Linked DNA regions of Homo sapiens: all the other regions are linked to region 1. The links are contacts of gene promoters, found by promoter capture Hi-C in blood cells and fetal thymus (Javierre and others, 2016). All regions are on one chromosome and are shown on one strand. The core of a region is centred on a gene start or on the middle of the fragment in contact, and the rest is flanking DNA. Distances in the headings are between cores, read along the strand shown. Region 1 holds the start of NNT (nicotinamide nucleotide transhydrogenase). Region 2 has its middle 48 kb from the start of FLJ32255. Region 3 overlaps ANXA2R-OT1 (ANXA2R overlapping transcript 1). Region 4 overlaps ANXA2R-OT1 (ANXA2R overlapping transcript 1). Region 5 has its middle 83 kb from the start of FLJ32255. Region 6 has its middle 12 kb from the start of FLJ32255. Region 7 overlaps LOC100506639 (a long non-coding RNA gene).

The links. The method cuts DNA at HindIII sites, captures the fragments that hold promoters and counts their contacts. A CHiCAGO score of 5 or more calls a contact.
Region 2: a fragment that was not itself captured here is called in contact with the fragment with the promoter of NNT in region 1 in 1 of 17 cell types (non-activated CD4 T cells); the score reaches 6.6 in non-activated CD4 T cells.
Region 3: a fragment that was not itself captured here is called in contact with the fragment with the promoter of NNT in region 1 in 2 of 17 cell types (fetal thymus and M0 macrophages); the score reaches 5.5 in fetal thymus.
Region 4: a fragment that was not itself captured here is called in contact with the fragment with the promoter of NNT in region 1 in 1 of 17 cell types (fetal thymus); the score reaches 8.5 in fetal thymus.
Region 5: a fragment that was not itself captured here is called in contact with the fragment with the promoter of NNT in region 1 in 1 of 17 cell types (naive CD8 T cells); the score reaches 5.2 in naive CD8 T cells.
Region 6: a contact is called between a fragment that was not itself captured here and the fragment with the promoter of NNT in region 1, in 1 of 17 cell types (non-activated CD4 T cells). The highest score is 5.2, in non-activated CD4 T cells.
Region 7: a contact is called between a fragment that was not itself captured here and the fragment with the promoter of NNT in region 1, in 6 of 17 cell types (naive CD4 T cells, total CD4 T cells, non-activated CD4 T cells and 3 more). The highest score is 9.6, in naive CD4 T cells.

What each region holds. Positions count from the first base shown.
Region 1 is chr5:43,601,880-43,604,579 of GRCh38, reverse strand. NNT (nicotinamide nucleotide transhydrogenase) reads right to left here and starts at 1,400. Exons shown (of 22, transcript NM_182977.3): 1 at 1,286-1,400. NNT-AS1 (NNT antisense RNA 1) reads left to right here and starts at 1,350. Exons shown (of 3, transcript NR_073113.1): 1 at 1,350-1,802. RefSeq lists silencers at 1,140-1,359, 1,480-1,569, 1,833-2,052. The HindIII fragment of the contact is 7,409 bases long and covers 1-2,700 here.
Region 2 is chr5:42,944,067-42,946,766 of GRCh38, reverse strand. No RefSeq gene overlaps it. Among named protein-coding and RNA genes, the nearest start is that of FLJ32255, 48 kb to the left of the region's middle. The HindIII fragment of the contact is 7,406 bases long and covers 1-2,700 here.
Region 3 is chr5:43,025,145-43,027,963 of GRCh38, reverse strand. The region is part of intron 2 of ANXA2R-OT1 (ANXA2R overlapping transcript 1); the gene reads left to right. LOC105374748 (a long non-coding RNA gene) reads right to left here. Exons shown (of 3, transcript NR_188279.1): 3 at 268-2,819. Among named protein-coding and RNA genes, the nearest start is that of ANXA2R, 14 kb to the left of the region's middle. The HindIII fragment of the contact is 4,980 bases long and covers 1-2,819 here.
Region 4 is chr5:43,049,763-43,052,462 of GRCh38, reverse strand. All of the region lies in intron 2 of ANXA2R-OT1 (ANXA2R overlapping transcript 1), which reads left to right. Among named protein-coding and RNA genes, the nearest start is that of ANXA2R-AS1, 9.0 kb to the right of the region's middle. The HindIII fragment of the contact is 1,875 bases long and covers 513-2,387 here.
Region 5 is chr5:42,909,039-42,911,834 of GRCh38, reverse strand. No RefSeq gene overlaps it. Among named protein-coding and RNA genes, the nearest start is that of FLJ32255, 83 kb to the left of the region's middle. The HindIII fragment of the contact is 5,021 bases long and covers 1-2,796 here.
Region 6 is chr5:42,979,800-42,982,618 of GRCh38, reverse strand. No RefSeq gene overlaps it. Among named protein-coding and RNA genes, the nearest start is that of FLJ32255, 12 kb to the left of the region's middle. RefSeq lists enhancers at 219-1,044, 1,045-1,870. The HindIII fragment of the contact is 9,477 bases long and covers 1-2,819 here.
Region 7 is chr5:43,079,311-43,082,149 of GRCh38, reverse strand. All of the region lies in intron 2 of LOC100506639 (a long non-coding RNA gene), which reads right to left. Among named protein-coding and RNA genes, the nearest start is that of ANXA2R-OT1, 13 kb to the right of the region's middle. The HindIII fragment of the contact is 4,908 bases long and covers 1-2,839 here.

The sequences.
Region 1 (2,700 bases), core at 151-2,650:
AGGAAGTCAGTATTTTTGACTGAATGAATAGGGCTAGGTGACCTTAAGCCTAAGTACCTATTGAGCACATTTTCCAAGGATTTTCGGAAAATTTCCTTTGAAAAGGAAATGTTTGTGTAGCCTTGTGGAAAACTGATTCTATCACCAAGGTAAGCAGCCTAAGCGCACCTGCTGGAAAGAAGGCAATCCTAAACTGTCTGTTAATAAAAAGTCAAGGTTTACAAATAAAAGGGGTGCAATGAAGAAAAGGGGCACACTTTAAATAAGAAGAGTAGGTAGGCACCTAAGCCCCACGCGCTTCTCCGAATAAGTCTGTCCTACAAGACTCCTGACAAACAGACCACCTAAGGACTGGCCGGCGCCACAGGGTGAATAAAGGACACCGGCAACCATAAACAAGTCACGCTTTTAAAAGCGAGACATACCAGCAAGGACACAATACCCTACTGAGCCAGCTTCGGCTGGCAGGCGCCGTGACCTCACCCAAAGCCACTGGTGTCACGGCTACTGCCACCGGTGCCGTCCCTTGCTCGGCAACTAACTGCCACCCGCTGGCATCTGCACGAGACCGCTATTTATAACCTCCCTAGGAAGCCGATTGGCCACGGCTGCAAATAGTCATTCCGGCTGTTGAGTTTGAACTAGCTCTGCCCAGGTCGCCCTCTCCGCTGTCTCTTCCTCCTCACCAGCCTAGGCCCCAGAAACTTGTACCCACCACCGCCAGACCGCCCCAACTCACACTCACAATTTGTGCTCGCAATCTCCTATGTCCCCAGCCGGACACCCTCTCCGAACTCCCTCAAGGGTCAAGCATACCTCAAGGGCATCCAGCTGCCACCTCTCTGGATGAACCGCCCATCGAAAGTCCTCTATGACCTCCCTCTCCACCACCCCCGATCTTGAGGGCCGAAATGACCCCGTACGACTCTCGCTGTCCCCCAAAGCTGCAAATATCTGCACCTGCACAGCTGCCGCCTCATTCCCTGCCCTCTTCGGGGACCCAGTTCCCAAATCCACCAGCCCACTCCCTTCGACATCGCCCCAGCAGGAGACGAGAAAGGGACACCAAGAGGCACGGTGCTTCTTCCCCACCTAAGCCTGCGGCCTGCGGACACCCCAATGCACCCTGCGCCCGGGACACCGCCGACCCCGCCCCGCTTTGCTCTTTGACAGGTCTCTCTCCCGGCGAGGGCCGTGGTCTTCAGGAAAGGCCCGAGCCCCTTTCCCAGCTGCGCCCTAGGCGCGCGCCCCGGCTGCCCGCACCCGCCAGTGCCGTCGCGCTCACCTGGGCCGGGAGGCTGACAGCCTTGGGCTGTGCCCTGAGGGCCGCGAGAGGACGTCGCGCTGGCAGACCCGGGCTTGGGCCCCGCGGCGCTGCGCCTCCAACCCGGAAGAACAGCCCCAACTCCGCGGCGGCGGGCGGCCACGTGACTGCAGCTCCGCTCCCACCTCGGCCCGCGCCCCTTCCCCGCCCCAGCTTTCTTCCCGCCAGGCCCCCTCCACCCGATCGCCGCGCGCTCTCCGAACCAAAAGGCGACCTCACGAAATGCCCCTTTGAGCTCAAAGGCTAGTTACCCCCAGGGGCCCTTCCACTCTCGGGGACAGGCGAAACCTCTTTGTCTCTGCCTCGGCCTGCGGCCCCCAGCCCAGCCTCCGCGCTTTCCCTCCGCCAGTCCTTGTCAATCAAACCTGGTGCCAAACGCGGCAGCTGAAGTTTTCAGGGACACATTTGCTTCTCCCCTTGAAGAACCAGTTACAAAGCGTGATGTCCTCTCTGGGGTCCCATCAGAACAAAGAAACAGGTAATATAACTCCACTCCGGGTACCTGCCTTTCCTCCAGCTCGCTAGGAAAAATCAGAACTTCTGTAACAGAGAGGACCCAAGGGAAAGGGGCAGGCGGAGAGGGGTTGGTGAAGGGCGGGAATGGGGGGCGTTGATTTTCCATTCTGGCAGGAGAGGTGGAGTTAAATTCCTCAGAAACGATGTCCAGGCTTGAAAAGTAACACACATCTGCGTGCTTGTCTTCCAACATCAGAGCCAGCCTAGAGGAAGCTGGCTAGTGTCACTGCTAGTACGAATATCCCCGAGGCTGGAAAGCATCTGGGTGGAGGTTGTGAGCTTTCCAGACCAGGCCTCGGCTGTTTTTCTAAAACTATTAACCGTAATGACCTAGTCGTTCTTTTCACACAGTTCTGTTACTTATTCTGCAGGTGTATTCTGACTAAAAGTGGGAGGAATAAAAAATAGAGTGTAAAATGGTTCACTTGCCCAAAACTTAATCATCATGAAGTGTCAGTAACGTCATTTATTTCTATTAATTGAAATTTTGATACAAGAAAAATAATTATGAATCTAAAAGGTATAAGCAGAACAGGTATTCCATAACTTTAAAAAGAAATGAGCCGCAGGGAAACCCTTAGTTTGAGAACTTGTCTTGTGATTAACCTACACAGAAGGTCATTCAACTAATGGATTCCCACTGCAGTCCAAACTCACAGACAGGAAATGACACAGCCCCATGTTTTAAAATAATAATGAGCCGTGGTAAGTGTGACCATAGGGACGGTTTCCAGATACTGAAGGTACAATGAAGTGAGATTAGTAATGATCCCACTTAGTAAGGATTTTAAACTAAGTTATTGATTTAAAACTTTTTGTAGGGGTCAGGAGTTGCTGCTTTGTCTTTTAGGGATTAATAA
Region 2 (2,700 bases), core at 165-2,664, 660 kb after region 1:
TGGCATGCAGTGGCCTGATCTTGGCTCACTGCAACCTCCACCTCCTGGGTTCAAGTGATTCTTGTGATTCAGCCTCCTGTGTAGCTGGGATTACAGGCGTGCACCACCACGCCTGGCTAATTTTTTGTATTTTTAGTAGAGATGGGGTTTTGCTATGTTGGCCAGGCTGGTCTTGAACTCCGGGCCTCAAGTGATTCACTCACCTTGGCCACCCAAAGTGCTGGGATTACAGGAGTGAGCCACCCCACCTGGCCCACAATGGTAACTTTTTTAAATGATCTAAAACCAACTCTATACTCATAAATTCAACAAGTTAGATAGAATGGATCAACCCTGCAAGATCCACAGTCATCGTTAATGATATTGAATTCATGGTCAAAAAATCTTCCAAAAAACAAACCTAGAGTTTCTTACAATTTCATTGACTATTTTTTACCAAATATTTAAAGAATAAATAAGATGAATTCTACATGACTTATTCTAGTAAATAAAAGAATATGGAATACTTCCCAATTTATTTTATGAGATCAGCACTTTCCTGGCACACACAGTACGCTAAGAGAAAGCTACTGACCAATATTGCACCTAAGCATAGATGCAGAAATCCTCACCAAAATACTAACAAATGGCAGTCAGAAATATATGTTAAAGAACAATACCATGCCTTGGGCCAGGCGCAGTGGTTCACGCCTGTAATCCCAGCACTTTGGGAGGCCGAGGCCGGCGGATCACGAGGTTAGGAGATCGAGACCATTTTGGCTAACACAGTGATACCCTGTCTCTACTAAAAAAAAAAAATACAAAAAATTAGCCGGGGGTGGTAGTGGGTGCCTGTAGTCCCAGCTACTTGGGAGGCTGAGGCAGGAGAATGGCGTCAACCCGGAAGGCGGAGCTTGCAGTGAGCCGAGACCGCACCACTGCACTCCAGCCTGGGCGACAGAGCGAGACTCCGTCTCAAAAAAAATAAAGAACAATACCACGCCCAAGTAAGATTATTCCAGATGGAGGGCTAGTTTAATGCTCGAAAGTCAAATAATATAATTTGCCTTATTGATAGCCTAGATGAGAAACACCGTATAATCCTATCAAATGATGCACAAAAAGCACTTAAAATCTATACCATTTATGATTTAAAATTTAAAAACCAACTCTCAGCATCATGGGAACAGAGGGAATTTCCTCAACCAAAAAAAATCTACAAAAACCTATAGCAAACGTGGTATGTAATAATGACAGACTCAACGTTTTTCCCATGGAATCAGGAACAAGGCACAAATATCCACTCTCACCATTTCTATTCAACAATGTACTGGAATTGTTTGCCAGTGCAATAAGGTGAGAAAATGTGTTAAAAATCATAAAAATTGGAAGCGAAACAATGAAAATATCCATACCTGCAGAATATGAGTCTATGTAGAAAATCTTAAGGAGTCTAAAAGAAAAGTTCCAGCACTCATGAGTGAGTTTAGCAAGCTCTCAAGATATAACAGTGCAAACCCTCAGAGGGAAAAGTTCCAGGGACTTGGAACAAGAGAATTTCCTGCACTAAGTTCTCAGGCCTGCTGCCTGTTAACCACATTTCCTGTAGGCCCAGCCTGTGAGTCACCTGCCATGCACAACTCCTGGCTGATCCTTCCCTCCAGTCTCTGGATAAGACACACTACTTCTGCCCTGCAATCAGCAAACCTAGGCGACCCAGAGTCCCGTGCCAGTCCTGGCACCAGCAACCAGCCGCCCCGCTCCTATGCCCCGTCCTTACCTTCATCAGCAGGAACCCAGGTAACAGAAATTTAACATTTGTGTCCTATTTTATTTTATTTTATATTTTTGAGACAGAGTTTTGCTCTTGTTGCCCAGGCTGGAGTGCAATGACACCATCTCGGCTCACTGCAACCTCTGCCTCAGGGTTCAAGCGATTCTCCTGCCTCAGCCTCCCGAGTAGTTGGGATTACAGGCATGCGTCACCATGCCTGGCTTATTTTGTATTTTTAGTAGCGACGGGGTTTCACCATGTTGGTCAGGCTGTTCTCGAACTTCTGACCTCAAGTGATCCACCCGACTGGGCCTCCCAAATTGCTGGGATTACCGGCGTAAGCCACCGCGCCCGGCCACATTTGTGTACAATTTTATTGAGAAGGGGAAAGAAAATGGCACAAACTGATTTGAAGGCAAAACTTCTTCCATCGCGTTTGAGAGAACTCAGGTGTTACTGTAACATCATCTGTTACAAGACGATCGTCAATGGAAGGATCTCAGAGAAAATCTCAGGGCTCAGGACATCAAAGGCGGCGGTGGACACCTTCTTAGGGCGTCTGCCCTCAAGCGCATGCAATCTGCAGCCAGCAGTCTTGGAACTTCGGTTGGTGGCTTCGGCGGGACAGTAGTAGGCTGACACTCTGAAAGGTCTCCTCGGACGGACGTCTCCGGCCCCAGTCGTCTGTCCACGAAGCAAGGGGCGAGTTGAGAGGGATGCTGCGGGGGCAGGCGTCCGTTGGGACCCTCTGCAGTCTCCAGCTCTCCAGAGGGCGCCTGCGGCTACTCCTATTTGCCGGTGCCGGATTCAGAGCGGGCGACTTTGAGCCCCTTCTCAAAGTGCGCTGCGGTCTGGGAAAGAGATCTTTTCGCCTGCAGTTTCAGCAAAGAAGCACTCAGGGAGCGGAAAGTAGGTCGCAGTGGAACCTAGAAAGCTGTCCCAAGAGA
Region 3 (2,819 bases), core at 120-2,619, 580 kb after region 1:
TTATCAGTTACAGCTTTCTTACAAATGCCTTTGCTACATCTTTGGCCAACCTGATAATTTATGGAGTCAATATCATATACGTGGGCACTGTATCATCAGTAGTTTAACAATTCAATCAAAACTAAATCAAAACTTCCACCTTTATCTAATCATGTATCATTTTTGCCTAGAGGCCAGCAGGCCATCTTGGGCAGAAGACTACAAGATTTTTTTAGTCTAGATACCTCCCATTTAGTTCACTGAAAGCCATTAATTGCTTTCTCTTTGTCCATGGCTGTAACAAACGTTTATTTTTATTTTGGAGGCAAGGTTTCACTCTGTAGCTCAGGCTAGAATGCAGTGGTATCATCACAGCTCACTTCAGCCTTGAACTCCTGGGCTCAAACAATTATGTTGCCTCAGCCTCCTGTGTGGCTGGGACTACAAGCAGACACCAACACATCCAGCTAATTTTTTTTTTTTTTTTTTTTTTACTAGAGATGGTATTTTACTATGTTGCCTGGGCTAGTTTTGAGTTTTTGGCCTCAAGTGATCCTCCTGCCTCAGCCTCCCATAGTGCTGGGATTACAGGCATGAGCCACTATGCCCGGCCCATAATAAAGTTTTCTAGTCTTAGAATCTTTGTACTTTATATTCTCTCATGATGGTAACTCCACCTTTTTTTTTTTTTTTTTGAGACAGGGTCTTGCTCTGTTGCCCAGGCTGGAGTACAGTGGTGTGTTCTCAGCTCACTGCAAGCTCTGCCTCCCGGGTTCAAATGATTCTCTCGCCTCAGCCTACTGAGTAACTTGAGATTACAGGTGTGGGCCACCACGCCCAGCAAATTTTCTTATATTTTTAGTAGAGATGGCATTTCACCATGTTCGCCAGGATGGTCTTGAACTCCTTGCCTCAAGTGATCCGCCTGCCTTGGCCTCCCAAAGTGCTAGGAGTACAAGTGCGAGCCACTGCACCCAGCCTAGGTTGGTTTGTTTGTTTTTTGGTGTTGTTCATTGCATTACTCATATCGAAGTGGAAGTATCTGTGACAATTCTATCCTTACTATAGTAGCTAATATAATATCCTCCTAGTTACCTTTTCAACTAAGTTGCGTTAAGTTTCTTGATAACATTTATCATATAAACACGGTTTTATTTATTTATTTGTTGTCATGCTTTTTTTTTTTTTTTACAATCCATGAAGGTGTCAAACACTTTATGGCCAAGTCCATGTCTGCTTGTTGATTACTTATCTCTGGGACCTTGTTCACTATGTAGTACAATATAGACACTTGGTATTTGTTAATGAAGACATGATAAATGTATTAAAATCTTGGGTGTGGTGGCTTATGCCTGTAATCCCAGCACTTTGGGAGGCTGAGGTGGGAGGATTGCTTGAGCCCAAGAGTTTGAGATCAGCCTGGGCAGCAGAGGGAGACTCTATCTCTACAAAATTTTTAAAATTCTCTGAGTGTATGGTGCGTGCCTGTAGCCTCAGCTACTTGGTAGGCTTAGGTGGGAGGATTGCTTGAGTCTAGGAGATTAAGGCTGAAGTGAGCAGTGATTATGCCACCACACTGCAGTATAGGTGACAGATTGAGACCCTGTCTCAAAAAGCAAACATCAACAACAACAACAACAAAAAGGGTAGTCTCAGAGCTCTATAACTGATTATAAACCACTCTACGAAAGGATCTAAGTAAAACAATAATTGTAGATGACAAAAGTCTTACAATAGCCATGGTTTAAGACACAACTGACAAAGAAATGTGGTTATATCTATGATATATAACATTTGAATATAATAATCATAATTAGTTCTGAAAACATATACTAAGACATATCACAATCAGAAGAATCTCATACAATTTTAAAACACTAATAACACATTTACATAAATACAATGCAAAGATGGTTACATATCATTTTATATTTGATAATACTTCTTGTGTGATTATACCAACTAAGCCAAATATGTCTCTTTGGATTTCAGGGGACTCAATGTCAAAAAAACTAATGAGATGAAAATGACTGAATTTAGAATTGGATTTTGGAAAGTTTGTCAAACATCAAAGACTTAAAACACTTGATATCACAAAACAGGATCACAGGTTATCGGGGGACCTGCGCCGATAATCACGTAGGTTCTTTTCTATTTTCCTAAGCGTCGACTGGCTTGAGAAATAAAAGAACAGAGTACAAAAGAGAGAAATTTTAAAGCTGGGCGTCCGGGGGAGACATCACACATTGGTAGGATCTGTGATGCCCCACAAGCCACCGAAACCAGCAGGTTTTTTTAGGGATTTTCAAAAGGGGAGGGAGTGTGCGAATAGGTGTGGGTGACAGACATCAAGTACTTAACAGGGTAATAGAATATCACAAGGCAAGTGGAGGCAGGGCGAGATCACAGGACCACAGGACCGAAACGAAATTAAAATTGCTAATGAAGTTTTGGCACCATTGTCACTGATATTATCTTATCAGGAGACAGGGTTTTGAGATCAACTGGTCTGACCAAAGTTTATTAGGCGGGAATTTCCTCTTCCTAATAAGCCTGGGAGCGCTATGGGAAACTGGAGTTTATTTCACCTCTGCAATCTCGACCATAAGAGACAGGTACGCCCCGGGGCGGCCAGTTCAGAGACCTACCCCTAGGTGCGCATTCTCTTTCTCAGGGACGGAATTCAGCGATATTTCTCCCATTTGCTTTTGAAAGAAGAGAAATATGGCTCTGTTCTGCCCGGCTCACCGGCGGTCAGAGTTTAAGGTTATCTCTCTTATTCCCTGAACAATTGCTGTTACCCTGTTCTTTTTTCAGGGTGCCCACATTTCATATTGCTC
Region 4 (2,700 bases), core at 201-2,700, 550 kb after region 1:
CCAGTTAAACAGTTAACAGGACTGTCTCGAGTCAGGTGGTGGGATTGCAGAATGGCATCCACCAAAGTTAGGCCTAAGCAATCATTCATTTAATAAGAGATATTTCCAGCCAGGTGTGGTGGCTCATGCCTATAATCCCAGCACTTTGGGAGGCCGAGGCGGGCGGATCACCTAGGGAGTTTGAGACCAGCCTGACCAACATGGAGAAACCCTGTCTCTACTAAAAATACAAAATTAGCCAGGTGTGGTGGCACATTCCTATAATCGCAGCTACTCAGGAGGCTGAGGCAGGAGAATCACTTGAACCCAGAAGGTGGAAGTTGCAATGAGCCGAGATTGTACCATTGCACTCCAGCCTGGGCAACAACAGCAAAACTCTGTCTCAAAAAAAAAAAAAAAAAAAGATATTTTCATTGAAACGAGAAAAGCAAAGGTTAATGATTGGAACTGACTATAAACTCAGTTTTTTTAGTCCAGAGGGCAGCCAGTCAGAAAGTTTTAGATGTTAAGCTTGAAGTATCTTCAGTTTGAATGGGGGCAGGCAGTGGCAATCTGACGGAATTTCCTGGTTTGCAGTTTGCATGAGGTGTTCTGGTGAAATTTCTGAGTAGTCCATGTATGAGTGGTGGTGATTTCTCTGCAGTCTATATTAACCCATCCAGCTTCAGCTGACAAGACTTCAGGAAAAGTGCAGTTTAATTTCAGCAGTTCAAAGCCAGAAGGGTAGAAGAAAAATCAGAAATATTAGTTTTAAGAGCCATAGCTAGACTTTTTTTTTTTTTAGGTGAAGTCTTGCTCTGTCGCCCAGGCTGGAGTACAGTGTCACCATCTCCACTCACTGCAACATTCACCTCTGTGTTCAAGCAATTCTCCTGCCCCTGCCTCCCGAGTAGCTAGAATTACAGGTGCACACCACCACACCCAGCTAATTTTTGTATTTTTTGTAGAGATGGGTTTTCACCATGTTGGCCAGGCTGGCCTCGAACTCCTAGCCTCAAGTGATCCACCTGCCTCAACCTGCCAAAGTGCTGGGATTACAGGCATGAGCCAATGCGTCCAGCCCTTTTTTTTTTTTTTTTTGAGATGGGGTCCTTGCTTTGTAATTGAGGCTGGAGTGCAGTGGCACAAACAAGGCTTACTGCAGCCTCAACCTCCTTGGCTCAAGCAATCCTTCCACCTCCACCTTCCAAGCAGCTGCAACCACAGGCGCATGCCTCCATGCCCAGCAAATTTTTGAACTTTTTGTAGAGACGGTGTTTCGCCTTTTGCCCAGGCTGGTCTCGAAGTCTTGGGCTTCAGCAATCCTCCCACCTCGACCTCCCAAAGTGCTGGGATTGCAGTTGCGAGCTCTGACACCCAGCCCATTGCCAGATATTACAGGAAACAAAAAATTCAAGATCCAGTCTAGATTTCAGGTAGACGAAAAAACCTCAAAAACAATGAGCTAGAGTCTAATAACAGGTGCACTATATTTTTTTCTCTGAAAGTTTTTTCTCTATACTTACTCCCTTTTTATCAAACATCATCAAAGTATTAGTAAGAGTAATCTGTTTGCAAAATAAATTTAGTGTCTTTAAAGTTGGCCTAATATTTACACAAGTGCAGCAGGAATAGTGTTTTACCACACAGGGTCTCTTTAAGTTGGCTTTTCTGGATCTTTTAATAAGGAATCTCAAATTAGACTTTTAAAAGCCTCTCAAGGCTAGGAAACCATACCAGGATCTTGCTATCACACTTTGCCTGGAATACCTATAGATTTCGGTGAATTCTTCCCTTGTCAAGGTCCTCCAAATATCCTGATGTTCCTCAGCCTGCCAGGAAGTGACATTTCTTACCCACCTGTAAGGCCAGGAACCCTTTTAAACCAGACCAGTTTCTCAAGTCTGAGTGTGTTGTTTCTGTTCCTAAAAACCACAAAAGAAAGAAAACAGTGATATTACATTCAACGTGGTAACAACTCTGAATCTTTGTTCTAACAGTGGAAATATAATATCTCTAGGGATTAAGCCCGGTCTCCAGAATGTACCCGGGCCATAGGAAAATAACATCCAGATGTTTTTTAACAGCACCTACAAGGACGAGCTGAGGGTTTCTCAGTATAGGGGAAACTGTCACAAGGTGTACCCTCTTTTCTTTTGAAGCAGTAAAAGCAGTTCTCATTCTTCCCCATTCTTTGTTCAAAGCATATGAGATATGAGCCAGCTTTATAGTTATTGTCATGCTACCTTACATGCATGTAAATCTGTTAAGGCTAATTCAATACTAGTGTTCTGTCTCTCTTCTGTTGGGTACACAGGGGTCTTTTTGTGTCAGGATTGTTTTATTTCTCCCACAGTGGATATATTCTTCCCCTTTCTTTCATCCTAAGTGGATTATTCTTAGAAGCTTATCCTAAGTGGATTATTCTTAGATAGGGCTTCCTAGAAGATGGTTCCATGTGATCAAGCAAACTGTTGTGTTCAAGGTAGGTTCAGTTAATAGTACCCAATGTTCATAAAAGTAGTGGGGGATTCTCTTTAAAAAAAAGAATAAAAATTTTGAGTACAAAATTACAGACCTGTTCAAACGGATCCTAAAAGCTAAGCTTCCTTAGCTGCATGGTAAATTCGCCTCTGACCCTGCGTGATACCCAGTATGGGCCAATAAGGTAGTGTTGCAGGAAACTGAGGACCAGAGAGACTGATATGGAGAACAGGAGGA
Region 5 (2,796 bases), core at 171-2,670, 690 kb after region 1:
TTGGTATGCTGCAGGACCTGGACTCTGAATCCAGATTCTAGCAGAATTAGCTTTCTGATCTTGGACTATGATCTAACCTCATTGTGTCTCCTATCTACAACTGCTCAATGCCTCTAAAATATGCAAGAAGAATGAGACATAGTAGGTGTAATTGTCTAGGCTGCTCTGCAATAAGGACACACTTTGTGTAGTGAATAGACAGTAAGTAACTGGTTCGTGCCACCAGTGGGACATCTCCATTGCTCCCTTTCCTTGGCTGATTCAATCATAGCAACCCAGAAGCGTTTTCAGAGTATCTTCCAGAATGATACAATTTTCACCTTAATCCTATCAGGTTCTGAACCAATTTGCAAGGCAAATTAGTGTTAATCCCCTGCTTATTTGAATAGCTGGTTTCTGGCCTATATACAAGACAAAACATACTGTAAAAACAGACACTCAGTACTAGCCAGTGTTATTTACCTCTTTTCCTATCTCAACTATATTGCTGGCCTTGTCACAAGACTGAACCCATGGAGTTCTGTCCATTAAACCTGGAAGAACAGTCCTGGAGGTAAGCAGGTCCAGAGTGCATGTCATATGCCACCAGGTCAGGACCGTGAACAAACCTGAGGCTGGGCACTAGATCACTTGCTGTGTTGAGCCACCATGCCTGCCAATGCCCTTAGCTCTGTGAGGATGTAAAATCAGGTATGTGTGGGCTGCTGTGCTGGGTTTCCAGCAGGCACGGAGCTGTTCCCAGGCTCAAGAGGGGTCCAATGGCCATCAAAACCCACATGTCCAGGAGTCAGTGGCTGAAACCACAAAGGAGCTCCAGTCACCTTAAAGAAAGATGGATTCTACCAATGGCAGGGTTCAATGGTCCCAAACCAGCCAGGAGATGCCAACGCTTGTGGAGCTGAACAGACACATACTGAGGATGCCTTCATAAACTACTCACAATCAGGGCTTGAAATACAGAGCAACCCAGGAAGGGGAGGGGGGTACAAACCTTTTGTTGCTCCTGGCTCACAGTGAGATAGGAGTTTGGCAGGACTAGTTTTGCAAGACAAACAGGAGGCTAGGTCCCCAAGACACAGGTCACAATACCCTCTTGATAAGACATGATTCCTTTAAAAAAAAAAAAAAAAAAAAGCCCAAACCAGTTAGAAGGAAGATGGCTACATAAGCAACCTCTGGTTACCCTCGTTGCTCATTATATGCTCATTATTATGCATTGGGATGCTAAAAGACACTAACACCCGAGCAATCACTGTGACTGTTTACAAATGCCATTGCAATGCCCAAGAGTTACTCTGTATATTCTGTAAGGGGGAGAAACTCCTGGTTCCACAAGCTCCCACCCCTTTCCCAGATAACTAAAGAAATAATTGACCCCTTGTTTAGCATATAATCCAGAAATAGCCATAAAATAGCCAGCTAGCCACCCTGGCCCCATTGCTACCCTGACTATGGGGTAGCCTCCTTTTTGTTCCTTAGTTTCCTTAATAAACTTGCTTTCACATTACTCTGTTGGCTTGCTCTTGAATTCTTTCTGGCTCAAAGTCAAGTATCTACTTGGTCTCCCAGGCTAAACTCCAATTTTAGGGGTATCCTTGCATCAACAGCACCACTGCCTTCAGCCAATTCCCCGGAAGGAGCTCCTCACACCCCAGTGGAGACCCTCATTATGTTATTGTAAACTTCCTTGGGACTGTTCATCTAGGAACAAGAAGTCTCTATGATGGAGATAATTCCTTATATAGTTCTTCCTCTCCAAAGTGCCTTAAAGTTTTCTCAATTATACAACTTTGATTTATATGTAATCAAGAATATGCTAAGGGGCTTTACTTTTAGATCAACTCAGAATTCATAGTTCTTTGTACATGACAATTGAAGCCTGTTCCTTATTCTCCACCTGTGTGGAGTCAGGACTGCTCTCTGCGGTCCAGGCTGTCCCCGGAAGCTGCTGAAAACCGACGATTCCATCAAGAAGGAACCCGGAAAGGAGAGAAACCCCTGCCTTTCTGCAGGCCTGCAGTAGGACCTGCTTCAACTGCTGCCCTGGAAGGAGCCCGAGGCACCTCAGTGGGAACCCTCATGCTGTCTCTGGGGACTTTTGCACTGGAACTGTGCCCTGCACGCATAAGAGCCTTGAGGTCTTTGCTGTGGAGATCATTCCATAATTTGTTCTTCCTCTCCTGAATGTCCTAAACATTTTTATTTAGAAAAACTCTCTTCATGTAGTGAATAATATGCAATGTGCTAAGGAACTTTTCTTTTAGATCTACTCAAAATTGTGATGGTTCTTCCATCGAAACTGTACACATTGATTAAAGCCTTTCCCTTATTCTCCAACTGTGGAATCAAAACTAGTAAATCAAGGTTGGTATAGATGGGCCTGAAGCAGACAGAAAGGGGGCAGGGACCTAGCTCAGAGCTTTTTCTTTTTCTTTTGAGTCTTATTATTATTTAAGATGGGGGTCTCGCTGGGTCGCCTAGGCCGGTGTGCAGTGGCGTGATCAGGCTTTAGTCTAAATTCCAGGGGCCTTTGAGGAGCTGTGGATACTAACAGGGTGGGAGGGGACAGCTGGGTGGATCATATGCTGGAGTTGCTTTGAAACTGACTGTGGCCCTCCAAATAAAGGCAGAAAACAGGCATTAGCACTGTTCTTTAAATCAGGGGTCCCCAATCCCCCCCACCACGGACCGGTTAGGAACCCGGCCCCAAAGCAGGAGCTGAGCAGTGGGCAAGCGAGCATTACTGGCTGAGCTCCGCCTAGCGTCAGATCTGCTGCATTAAATTCTCACAGGAGT
Region 6 (2,819 bases), core at 122-2,621, 620 kb after region 1:
CAGTGTTTTGGTATATATTTATGTTACTGCACAGCAGATATCCAAACCTGTTGGTCCTGTAACGATCAGGCACATCTTTTGTATTGGTTTGTCTTGTGTTTTTTTTTTTTTTTTTTTTTTTCCAGATGGCCTAATTGGATTATTTCAGCAAGCTAAGTAATTTGAAGAGAGAGGCTAAGCCAATGTAGTACTAGAGCTACACTGGCCTTCTTTGGCTTAACATTTGTCTGGAATTATAATTTCCTCAATCTAAGAAACTAGTCATTGTAAGATGTGTCATTATTTCTTTTTTTATTTTTTATTTTCTTAGTATTTATTGATCATTCTTGGCTGTTTCTCAGAGAGGGGGATTTGGCAGGGTCATAGGACAATAGTGGAGGGAAGGTCAGCAGATAAACATGTGAACAAAGCTCTCTGGTTTTCCTAGGCAGAGCGCCCCGCCGCCGCCTTCCGCAGTGTTTGTGTCCCTGGGTACTTGAGATTAGGGAGTGGTGATGACTCTTAACGAGCATGCTGCCTTCAAGCATCTGTTTAACAAAGCACATCTTGCACCGCCCTTAATCCATTTAACCCTTAGTGGACACAGCACATGTTTCAGAGAGCACGGGGTTGGGGGTAAGGTTATAGATTAACAGCATCCCAAGGCAGAAGAATTTTTCTTAGTACAGAACACAATGGAGTCTCCTATGTCTAGTTCTTTCTACACAGACACAGTAACAATCTGATCTCTTTCTTTTTTTTTTTTTTTTTTTGTGTTTAAACAGCTTTATTTTTTTTTTTTAATTGATCATTCTTGGGTGTTTCTCGCAGAGGAGGATTTGGCAGGGTCATAGGACAATAGTGGAGGGAAGGTCAGCAGATAAACAAGTGAACAAAGGTCTGTGGTTTTCCTAGGCAGAGGACCCTGCGGCCTTCCGCAGTGTTTGTGTCCCTGGGTACTTGAGATTAGGGAGTGGTGATGACTCTTAACGAGCATGCTGCCTTCAAGCATCTGTTTAACAAAGCACATCTTGCACCGCCCTTAATCCATTTAACCCTTAGTGGACACAGCACATGTTTCAGAGAGCACGGGGTTGGGGGTAAGGTTATAGATTAACAGCATCCCAAGGCAGAAGAATTTTTCTTAGTACAGAACACAATGGAGTCTCCTATGTCTAGTTCTTTCTACACAGACACAGTAACAATCTGATCTCTTTCTTTTTTTTTTTTTTTTTTTGTGTTTAAACAGCTTTATTTTTTTTTTTTAATTGATCATTCTTGGGTGTTTCTCGCAGAGGAGGATTTGGCAGGGTCATAGGACAATAGTGGAGGGAAGGTCAGCAGATAAACAAGTGAACAAAGGTCTGTGGTTTTCCTAGGCAGAGGACCCTGCGGCCTTCCGCAGTGTTTGTGTCCCTGGGTACTTGAGATTAGGGAGTGGTGATGACTCTTAACGAGCATGCTGCCTTCAAGCATCTGTTTAACAAAGCACATCTTGCACCGCCCTTAATCCATTTAACCCTGAGTGGACACAGCACATGTTTCAGAGAGCACAGGGTTGGGGGTAAGGTCACAGATCAACAGGATCCCAAGGCAGAAGAATTTTTCTTAGTACAGAACAAAATGAAAAGTCTCCCATGTCTACTTCTTTCTACACAGACACGGCAACCATCCGATTTCTCAATCTTTTCCCCACCTTTCCCCCCTTTCTATTCCACAAAACCGCCACTGTCATCATGGCCCGTTCTCAATGAGCTGTTGGGTACACATCCCAGACGGGGTGGTGGCCGGGCAGAGGGGCTCCTCACTTCCCAGTAGGGGCGGCTGGGCAGAGGCGCCCCTCACCTCCCAGACGGGGCGGCTGGCCGGGCGGGGGGCTGACCCTCCCCACCTCCCTCTCGGACGGGGCGGCTGGCCGGGCGGGGCGCTGACCCCCCCACCTCCCTCCCGGACGGGGTGGCTGCCGGGCGGAGACGCTCCTCACTTCCCAGACGGGGTGGCTGCCGGGCGGAGGGGCTCCTCACTTCTCAGACGGGGCGGTTGCCAGGCGGGGGGTCTCCTCACTTCTCAGACGGGGCGGCTAGGCAGTGACGCTCCTCACCTCCCAGACGGGGTCGCGGCCGGGCAGAGGTGCTCCTCACATCCCAGATGAGGTGGCGGGGCAGAGGCGCTCCCCACATCTCAGACGATGGGTGGCCGGGCAGAGACGCTCCTCACTTCCTAGATGGGATGGCGGCCGGGAAGAGGCGCTCCTCACTTCCTAGATGGGATGGCGGCCGGGCAGAGACACTCCTCACTTTCCAGACTGGGCAGCCAGGCAGAGGGGCTCCTCACGTCCCAGACGATGGGCGGCCAGGCAGAGACGCTCCTCAATTCCCAGACGGGGTGTCGGCCTGGCAGAGGCTGCACTCTCAGCACTTTGGGAGGCCAAGGCAGGCGGCTGGGAGGTGGAGGTTGTAGCGAGCCGAGATCACGCCACTGCACTCCAGCCTGGGCACCATTGAGCACTGAGTGAACCAGACTCCGTCTGCAATCCCGGCACCGCGGGAGGCCGAGGCTGGCGGATCACTGGCGGTTAGGAGCTGGAGACCAGCCCGGCCAACACAGCGAAACCCCGTCTCCACCAAAAAAATACGAAAACCAGTCAGGCGTGGCGGCGCGCGCCTGCAATCGCAGGCACTCCGCAGGCTGAGGCAGGAGAATCAGGCAGGGAGGTTGCAGTGAGCCGAGATGGCAGCAGTACAGTCCAGCTTCGGCTCGGCATCAGAGGGAGACCGTGGAAAGAGAGGGAGAGGGAGACCATGGAGAGAGGGAGGGGGAGGGGGAGGGGTGATCTCTCT
Region 7 (2,839 bases), core at 313-2,812, 520 kb after region 1:
CACTTGAGGAAACTTGAGGTTGTGTAACTCTTCCTGAGGCTGGATAGATAAATGCAATTCTGCCGTCAAGAGGTCCATTTTTGGTGTTAGCATTAGGCCCATCTTCCAATTTAGTTTATTGTGTGTGATTTTCCTGTATCCCTTATTTCCAACCCTTCAATTCAAGATAACCATCCACAGTTGGTTATTTTATTACTAAATTGAATATTCTGTTGTTTACCTTTTTACATAGTTTTATTTTTATCAATATGTATCTACATATTGTGTGTTTTTGTTAATTTTATAAAATAAAACTGTGTTCTGTGAAGGGAAATTAAACTTTGGGACCCCAAACTCATTTAGCCAAAGGGAAAAGTTAAGCTGGGAACTGGGTCACACAAACCTGCCTCCCGCTTTTGATTCCTAAATAAGATGGCTACAAGATGAAAAGCTACATGCCTCTCCCATATTTTGCCCACAGGGAAATTCCTGGTGAGCTGTTAAAACTTCACCATGGCAATGCAAATTGATAGCTTATCTTTACATGTGCAGTCACCCTGCTCGCCAGACACAAATGCATATCTGATTGTTCCCTCTACCCCATTTTGTCTGTTATCTTATGTAAAATGCAGATTCCCCATATTTTTCCTCTGCCCCTTTGGTTTATGTGAAAACTGTGCGCTTCTCAATATCCTGCCCTTTCCCCTTTAAATTTGGAGCCCTCAAAATCATCATCAGAGAAAGGCATAGACCTGTCTCCCAGGCATGTCCTTAACTTTGGCAAATAAACCTCCTAAAATGATTGAGACTTATCTTGTCATTTTCCTCAATTGACAGTTCTATGTAGTCTTTTAAACTTTTTCTCTGAATATTATGTTGCTATAATGCAGCCATGATTTTGAGTAATGTTGTAGTTTATTCTGATTTTTGTAAAATATTCCGTTCTGTGAATATAATATGTTCCTTTCTATCCGCTCTCCTATTGTTGGAGTTTTAGTTCCTTCCTCCTCAGCAAATTTTTGTTACTGTGAACAGTACATATATGGACATTCTCTTCCATGTTTCCTTGTGTGCATGTGCAAGAATTTCCCTTGGATATAGACCTAAGAATGGAATCAGTGGCTTATGAGATATTCCTAAACTTGTTTACTCTATCTTTCCATTTTAACAGGAAAGTTCTTACTTCTGTCTTATTCTTTGTAGACTACCATTGAATAAAGGCCTCAATCAACCATCCATACCTACTGCAGATTCTTCTAGATGCTGATGTATGCGGAACCCAGAATTTCTATTCTTGGCACCCATATAAGTAAATTTTATTTGTTCTGCATTATGTTCTAGTTTTCTTGATATAGCACTTTAAAAAATCATTTTCATACAAATTCATATGGTTTCTGCAAATATAAATTAACTGTCTCTTGCAACTGTTTTGATATGTAAGCAATGACACCCAAATTCAGATTTCATTGTTGTCCCTTAGGGGTATCCTAGTATCTGACTCTAGTTAGGGGGTTAGAATTAGTTATACTGGCTATGAGACTTCTGTTGAATTGACATTCTTTTAGGAGCTGTCTCAAGTAAGAGCTTTCTAGTATCTTCAAACAAAAAAAAGGACTCACCTACTCAGACAGAAAGTCTATTTTTTAAAGGACGCTTAGAGAGATTTGTGGGGTTCAAGGTTATTATATTTATAAAGATCTACCCAAATTTACCCCTTTGATTTCAGAGTCCCATTACTTGCTAATCAATCCCATTGCTTATACATAAAAGATATGGTAAAGGTGAATTCACCATATATATATAAAATTTAGAGACAGAGTCTCAATATATTCTCTAGGCTGGCTTTGAACTCACTTCCAGCAATCCTCCTCTGGCCTCAGCCTTTTGAGTAGGTGAGACAACAGGTATGTGCCACCCTGCTTGGCCTTCACCTTATATTGTTTTTTTTTGAGACGGAGTCTCACTCTGTCACCGAGGCTGGAGTGCAGTGGCGCAATCTCGGCTCACTGCAACCTCCAGCTCCCGGGTTCAAGCAATTCTCCTGCCTCAGCCTCCTGAGTAGCTGGGACTATAGGCACATGCCGCCAGGCCTGGCTAATTTTTTGTGTTTTAGTAGAGACGGGGTTTCACAACGTTGCCCAGGCTGGTCTCGAACTCCTGAGCTCAGGCAATCCACTCGCCTCGGCCTCCCATAGTGGTGTAGTGGTGCAGCTCACCATAGCCTCCAACTTCAGCCTGGGTGCACTTCAGCCTGGGTGACAGAGCAAGACTCTGTCTCAAAAACAAAACAAACAAACAAAATTTTACATTGGTTTATTAAAATAACATAAGCTATTGTTGGCTATACATTTTTCTTTATGTCACTAATTTCAGGAAAAAGAAGGTAATGAGTGAGACTCACATTGCCCAACTTGTGGTAACATTTTAGGTTATTAGTCTGGAAACAACAGGAAAGAAAAAAAAAACCACCAAAATTTATTTATTTATTTAGAGATGGAATTTCGCTCTTGTTGCCCAGGCTGGAGTGCAATGGTGCGATCTTGGCTCACTGCAACCTCTACCTCCTGGGTTCAAGCGATTCTCCTGCCTCGGCCTCCCGAGTAGCTAGGATTACAGGCGCCCACCACCACACCTGGCTAATTTTTTGTATTTTTAGTAGAGATGGTGTTTCACCATGTTGGCTAGGCCGGTCTCAAACTCCTGACCTCAGGTGATCCACCCACCTCGGCCTCCCAAAGTGCTGGGATTACAGGCATGAGATACCGCGCCCGGCTCCAAATTTATTTTTTGCTTATTTATTTTTTATTTATCTTAACTTTTTTAGAGATGGGTTTTCTCTCCGTTGCCCAGGGTGAAATGC